2 separate regions of the Homo sapiens genome follow, and region 2 is linked to region 1. The links are contacts of gene promoters, found by promoter capture Hi-C in human tissues and cell types (Jung and others, 2019). All regions are on one chromosome and are shown on one strand. The core of a region is centred on a gene start or on the middle of the fragment in contact, and the rest is flanking DNA. Distances in the headings are between cores, read along the strand shown. Region 1 holds the start of GPRC5C (G protein-coupled receptor class C group 5 member C). Region 2 has its middle 30 kb from the start of CD300LB.

Evidence for each region. The method cuts DNA at HindIII sites, captures the fragments that hold promoters and counts their contacts. A contact is called where the count stands out against the background at its distance.
Region 2: a fragment that was not itself captured here is called in contact with the fragment with the promoter of GPRC5C in region 1 in 2 of the 25 tissues and cell types used here (lymphoblastoid cells and spleen).

Annotation. Positions count from the first base shown.
Region 1 is chr17:74,430,307-74,433,659 of GRCh38, reverse strand. GPRC5C (G protein-coupled receptor class C group 5 member C) reads right to left here and starts at 1,572. Exons shown (of 4, transcript NM_022036.4): 1 at 1,519-1,572. RefSeq lists a silencer at 2,560-2,699. The HindIII fragment of the contact is 9,677 bases long and covers 1,129-3,353 here.
Region 2 is chr17:74,499,625-74,502,977 of GRCh38, reverse strand. No RefSeq gene overlaps it. Among named protein-coding and RNA genes, the nearest start is that of CD300LB, 30 kb to the left of the region's middle. The HindIII fragment of the contact is 5,799 bases long and covers 1-3,353 here.

The sequences.
Region 1 (3,353 bases), core at 323-2,822:
ACACACTCAAGAGCCTATAGGGAAAGACGATGGCCCGACTGACAGCCTTCCTGCCTCCACTCCTATCGGTCTCTCCCAGTCCCTGGTTAGGTCCCACTGTCTCACCCCTCTGTGCAGGGCGCTCAGGCGTTTACCCCATCGATAAGAAGGCGCACAGGAGACGCCTGTGCCTGGAAGGAGCGGCCTCAGTGTGTAGGTTGGTGGGGGGTGGGTTGGGGTTCCTCGAACCTCAGCCTAGACACCCCACCCCTATCCCCCTGCCCCTGCCCCGCACCAAGACCAGGCATTTGGGCCAAAATGCCCTGAGCTCTCTGAGACTTGGAAATCTTCAAGGGTCTGCTCTGGAATGTCACTCTGGAATGCGCCCCACCCCCCAATGCACTCCCTCCCCCAGTCCAGTTGAAGGCACAGGGGTGGGGGGCCGGCGGGGAGAGGAAGCTCCAGGAGCACAAAACCCTACTTCCAACAGTCTCCTCTCCCGGGCTTTAGGATCTTGATCGTGGAGTTTGTAAGTGATTGGGTCTTCCAGCGTGTAACACTGCGGGCCTGGGGATGGAGGTGCAAAGGACGCTGGAAAAGCCAGCCGGGAGTGGGGGTTCGGGATCTAGGGGCCAGGCTACCAGAAGGGGAGGCGCTTTGATAGTCTGAATTTCCAAACTTCCCTCAGGGGGATTCTGAACCCTCTCGTCCCTACTTGGGTCGACGGTACTGGGGTCTACACCTGCGCTCCCTGGGTGGCTGGAATGGGGAGCAAGGGAACCAGTCACTCTCTCCCATTTTTAGGGCCACAGAAACCTGCCCTCCACATCCACAGTAGCAGGCGGCAGAGAGGACGCCACCCACGAGAGAGAGTGACCGCGGACTCCCACCGAGAGGCAGGCGGTGGAGGGGCTCCTCTTGGAGACCCCGATTATGGAGTGGTTTCCCCTCCCTCCAGCCCGAGCCGCAGCGCCGGGCTCCCCCACCCCCCCAGTCCCCAGCCGGCTCGGGTTTGAAAACTTTCAGCGACCGAGCGGAGTTGGCGCGGCGTCCCCAGCCCGCAGGATGTCCAGTCCCCCCGCCTCTGCCCTCGCCCACTCCCCGCCGTCCCGACCCGACTCTTCCGGGCGGCGGAGCGGGAAGGCAGCAGCCCTTACCTGGGACTCGCCGCCGGCCCCGCTCCAGCGCAGCGTTTGGGGCCAACTCCAGCCCCAGGCGGGGGGCGGGCGGGGGTGGGAGGGACGCGGCGCGGGGCGCTGGGCCAGGCCCGGTCCTGGCTGGGATGGCGGGGCCCGGGCCGGGACGCAGGGCCTGCCTCTCCCTGGGACCGAGGCTGAGCCAGGCGCGCTGGGTTGCTCGCTCTCGCGCGGGCCTGTCCCCAGGCAGGGCTCCTTGCTTTCGGCGAGGGTGGGCTGGAGCCTGCATCACCGTTACATCACCTCCATTCAGGGCGCTAATCGGGCGCCCGCCGCGCTCCAGGTACGTGCGCTCCGTTTACACAGGAACAAAGCCTGCCCGGCCCTCCCCGCCCCGACTCACCTCCAGGCTGAGCCGACTCGTACTTTCCGGCTGGTGAGGGAGATGGGAGTTTCTGGCCCTGCCGGCGTGTGGGTTGTTGCTGTTGACTGCCACGCCCCCGCATGCGGGCGCGCGCACACTCACGCGCACTCACTTTCTGGGCTCGGCCTTCGCCGGGGCAATTGGTGTGAGGGTGCAGCCCTGCGCACCCCCCACCGCGTCTTCCAGAGAGCGCGCCTACGGACACGCGCGGGGCTACCTTGGCGCGTCTCCGTGGGGGACACCTAGCCTTTGTCACCTTCGTCCTGGCCCTCCCGTGAGACACACTTCAGGCACAGTTCGCTGGGAGCGGGCCGGAGCGAGGCGCACACTCAAGACAGAGTCCGTCTTTGTCACGCCTTCTGCGCCCCCTCCCCTCCCCAGCTTGCACACGTGGACACACCGCACACCGAGGTTCGCCTTTTGCACGCACGGTCCTTCTCTGGGACCTCCACCAGTCACCAAGCGTACGTGGGATCGTCACCAAGCGCTCCTCTCACGCGTGGGCCGAGTCCAGACCACTCTGGACCGTGGGCAAAGGTCCCCCTCGGCCCGACTACCCCGCGCCCGGGTTTCCTGTGACCGTTCCAGGTTCTGCCCAACTCGGAGCGCGCTCTCCCCTCCCGGCGTCCCCGTTCCCTGCTCCGACTTGTCCTAATTAGCCTTCACGGTTTTGTTCCCCGAGGTACAGTGTTTAGCGCGACCCCCTGGGCCTCTGCGCTCCGGGACACGTTGGCTCTGACTCCGAGTCCGTCCTTTCCAGGAGGTCAGGTTCCCACCAGCCCCACCCCCCACTCCCTGTTCCGGGGTGGATCTGTGGGTTGCCACCCTTTCCCCTCCGGCCCCAGGAATCTGCTGAAGCTGGACCGCAGAAATTGGGAAGCGAATCCAGGCTGGTACTTATCCAGCCCGATAAACAAGAGATTTTCCGGCCGCCTTCCCCCGGGGCTGCTGGCCTCGCGGGGGGTGGGGTGCGCAGTCCTGGGGGCCCGCAGCGAGGCCTAGTTAGCCCGCGCCAGAGGCCCGTAGGGGCTGAGGCGCACAGAGGAGGGAGAGGTTGTTGGGCCTGGCCAGGGCCCTGGAGACGCGGAGGGAGGGCAGGGCGCCGAGTCTCGGGGTGCCGGTTCTCATGACGCCGAATTGCCTGGGGGATCGCCAGCGGTGCGCCGGTCGGAGCCAGCTGGTGGCGGGGCGGGCGGCCCGGAGTGTTTGCTCAACCCTGAGCGCCCGCGAGGGGGAGGGGAGGCAGCTGGTCACGGGCTAGGGGGTAGCAAGGTGGAGGAGCGGGGGCTGGGAAAGGGGAGGGTATCTCCCGGGCTGCTTGTTTGCGTGCCTGCCGCGGTCTACGACAACCGGGAGTCTAAACTCTATGAATCACCCGGAGTTGCTGGAGCGATAAACCTCAGGCTGGTTCCTCCCCTCGCACACCGGCTTCTCGGACTCCTGGAGGGAATGTTTGCTTAGCGGCCGGAGCTGGCGGTGAGGCCCTGGTTCTCTAGAACCCTGTATCCCTTCCTGGCCTTGCCCTCACGGGCTGGTCTGGGGTGGCGAAGACTGAATTGTTTCAAGTCTCTTCAATATTAAGAAGAGGGGCGCAGTGCTGCTGCTGATCTGTTGCTCACTCCTGGGCTCCCTTCCGTAGCTCCACCTCCCACCCTAAGATTCAGAGGCCCCCATGCCAGGGAGGCAAACGCTTGTAGGGTCCAAGCAGTTGAGTGCCAACGCTAGAAAGGCAAACGGCGGGTCAGACCTAGGCGAGGGGCATCCGTGACTGTGGGCTGGGACTAGTTCTCGTGAAGCAGGCAACTGGTGCTGAA
Region 2 (3,353 bases), core at 437-2,936, 69 kb before region 1:
CAAGTTCTGTTCATACCGCACTCTGTAAGCCAAAATAGTTTCAAATGGATCAAAGATTTAAATACGAAGAAACTACACAAGTTTTAGAATAAACTGAAATCTTTCTAAAGTCTTAGACTATTTAAAAGTTTTAGAATAAACTGAAAACTGCAAGTTTTAGAATAAACTGAAAATATAAAATGAAATTTACAAAAGTTTTAGAATAATGGGTGAATTTATTAGACTCTTGAAATGGAGCATCCTAAGGAAAACTCAAACTTTATAAAGCAAATGATTGAGAAATCTGACCTCAGAAAAAAGATGAAACATCACTGGGTGAAAACACCTTTGAAAGTTTTTTAAAAAATGACAAGCTATGAAGGAAATGTTGCAGGCAATTTGACAGAGAGCTTATTTTCTTAATTTACAAAGCACTCGGAGGAACTCAGTAAGATAGATTAAAAGCTCAATGGCAAAATGGGCAAATGGATAGTTCACAGGAAAAAAACTAAAATGGCAAATAAAGGAATGCAAATTCTGAAAATTATAAGATATTATTTTCTTCTATCAGATTGAAAAGAAAATAGAGTGTGAAAATATCCAATACTGGCGAGAGTGTAGGGAAAGGGACATCGTTGAGTGTTCTTGATGGGAAGGTAAGTGGGTGTAAGGTACATGGATGTGCTTTGGTCAAGAATAGGTTAGCCAGGTGCGGTGGCTCACGCCTGCAATCCTAACACTTTGGGAGGCTGAGGCGGGTGGATCACCAGAGGTCAGGTGTTTGAGACCAGCCTGGCCAACATGGTGAAACCCCATCTCTACTATAAATACAAAAAAAAAAAAAAAATAGCTGGGTGTGGTGGCTCGGGAGGCTGAGGCAGGAGAATCGCTTGAACCTGGGAGGCGGAGGTTACAGTAAGCCGAGATTGCACCATTGCACTCCAGCCTGGGCGACAGAGCGAAACTCCGTCTCAAAAAACAAAAACAAAAACAAAAACAAAACAGGCAGAGGCAAACATCAGGGCCAGCGTGACTCAGGGAGTCTGGCGCGCAGGCGCATAACTCCACTTGTTATGTAATCTGTTTGTGTAAGTGGCTCAGAGCCACTATTGTCTGTAAAAGGTATAACTGCCCTGCTGACGCTGTACATGTGGTTCGGCATGGCTTGTGCCCAGAGGCAGAGAGTAAAACTGCTGACCCCATAAGGGAGAGCCAGGCTTGTAGGCCAGGGAATGCAGCTGTAAGCCTGGGAATGGCAAGAGCCGCAAAGCTGGAGCAGGCAGCCGAGATAAAGGTGAATTGTATGAGAAAGCTTCTGATGAAACTATCACAAGGACAGAAAACCAAACACCGAATGTTCTCACTCATAGGTAGGAATCGAACAATGAGAACACTTGGACACAGGGTGGGGAACATCACACACCGGGGCCTGTCAAGGGGTGGGGGGCTGGGGGAGGGATAGCATTAGGAGAAATACCTAGTGTAAATGACGAGCTGATGGGTGCAGCAAACCAACATGGCACATATATACCTATGTAACAAACCTGCACATTGTACACATGTACCCTAGAACTTAAAGTATATAAAAAAAACTGCTGATGAAAAAGCTGCTGAATAAAACCATATTTTACCTGCCTACAGCCCCCTAAATATTCCTTCCGCTATTCGCCACCCATCCACCCACTCCCCTCAGACCTCAACATGGGCTGGAACCTGACGCTTGGCATGACAGTGGGCAAGAGCTTTTTGAAGGAAAATTTGTCAAGATCTATTAAAAAAAAGTCAATTCATGGACCTTTTGACTAATGCTCCACTATTGGAAATTTCTCCTAAAGATATACTCAGATAGGCCAGGCGTGGTGGCTCACGCCTGTAATCCCAGCACTTTGGGAGGCTGAAGTGGGCAGATCACGAGGTCAGGAGATCGAGACCAGCCTGGCCAACACGGTGAAACCCCATCTCTACTAAAAATACAAAAATTAGCTGGGTGTGGTGGTGCACGCCTGTAGTCCCAGCTACTTGGGAGGCTGAGGCAGAAGAATCGCTTGAACCCGGGAGACAGAGGTTGCAGTGAGCCAAGATCACACCACTGCACTCCAGCCTGGGCAACAGAGCAAGACTCTGTCTCAAAAAAAAAAAAAAAAAAAAAAAAAAAAGATATACTCAGATATATACCAAGATACAGGTACAAAAATACAAAAACATGGTCTGGGATGACATAACAATGTGTGCATCTGTGCATGTGTATACACACGCAGTCATACATGGGGCCTTGTATGACACACAGATACATCGGCATGCATTGTGCACCTACAGCTCCAGTCCCTCCCCCAGCGCCTGACTCATACAGCCAATAGGGGGCTTGTCATCTTTATTTGAGCATCTGTACGCCCAACAGAGTCCCTGTTTCCTCTCCCCAATTCCACCCCAAAACTGCTGCTCTCTTAGTCTTTCCATTTCCGTAAAGGGACCCACCTTTACTGCCCTCCCAATTGCTCAAGTGAAAACCGTAGAAGTCACCTGCAATTTTTATTCCTTTCTTTTCACTCCCTCCCACATCCAATCCTTCAGCCTGTTGGGTTGGCTCTACGGCCAGAATGCATTCTGAGCTTGTCCACCTTCTCCAATGGCCACATCCACCACCCCATTCCAAGGTGCCATTGTGTGACTCCCTTGCTTGAAATTTTTCAGAGTTTCCACTTAGGACAAAATCCACACATTTGCGTATTAACCCTTCCCTGATCTGACCACTGCCTGCCTCTGCCTTTCTGCGTCTGCCTCCCACCAAGCTCCCCACATTGTCTACTCTGTACTCATCTGGCCGGCACCCTAAGCCTGGGACACACTAGCCTTGTTCCCCCTTAGAGCCTTTGCCTGAGCTGTTTCCTCTGCCAGGAATGCTCTCACTCTATATTATTGTGTGGCTGGCTCCTTCTCAAGTCTCAGCTCAAATGTCAGGAAGTCCCTCCATGACCTCCCTATGCAAGCAGCCCTTCCTGCCTCTCATCACTCTCAGCTGTACACAATTCAGATCTTCACACAGCAGTTCTGTGATGATCTGAACGAAGCTTGCTTTTGTTTTGTTTGTTCTGTCTACTGCCCACTAAGATACAAGGACCAGACAGAAGGGGCCTCATTTATCTTCTTCACTGCTATGTCTCTGCTGTATAGCTCCATGGTATATAGTAGGTATTCAATAAAAGTCATCAAGTAAATGAGTAAATAACGGAATGAATTAAAACTGTGGAATCACATATAAAAGAATGAGGTAGATTTGTGTGTACTTGTATAACAAGGTCTCTAGGACATATGCAAAAGTGAGGTATGAAGAATTATGAGCCCCTCCCCCCACTTTTTTTGGAGATGGAGTCTTG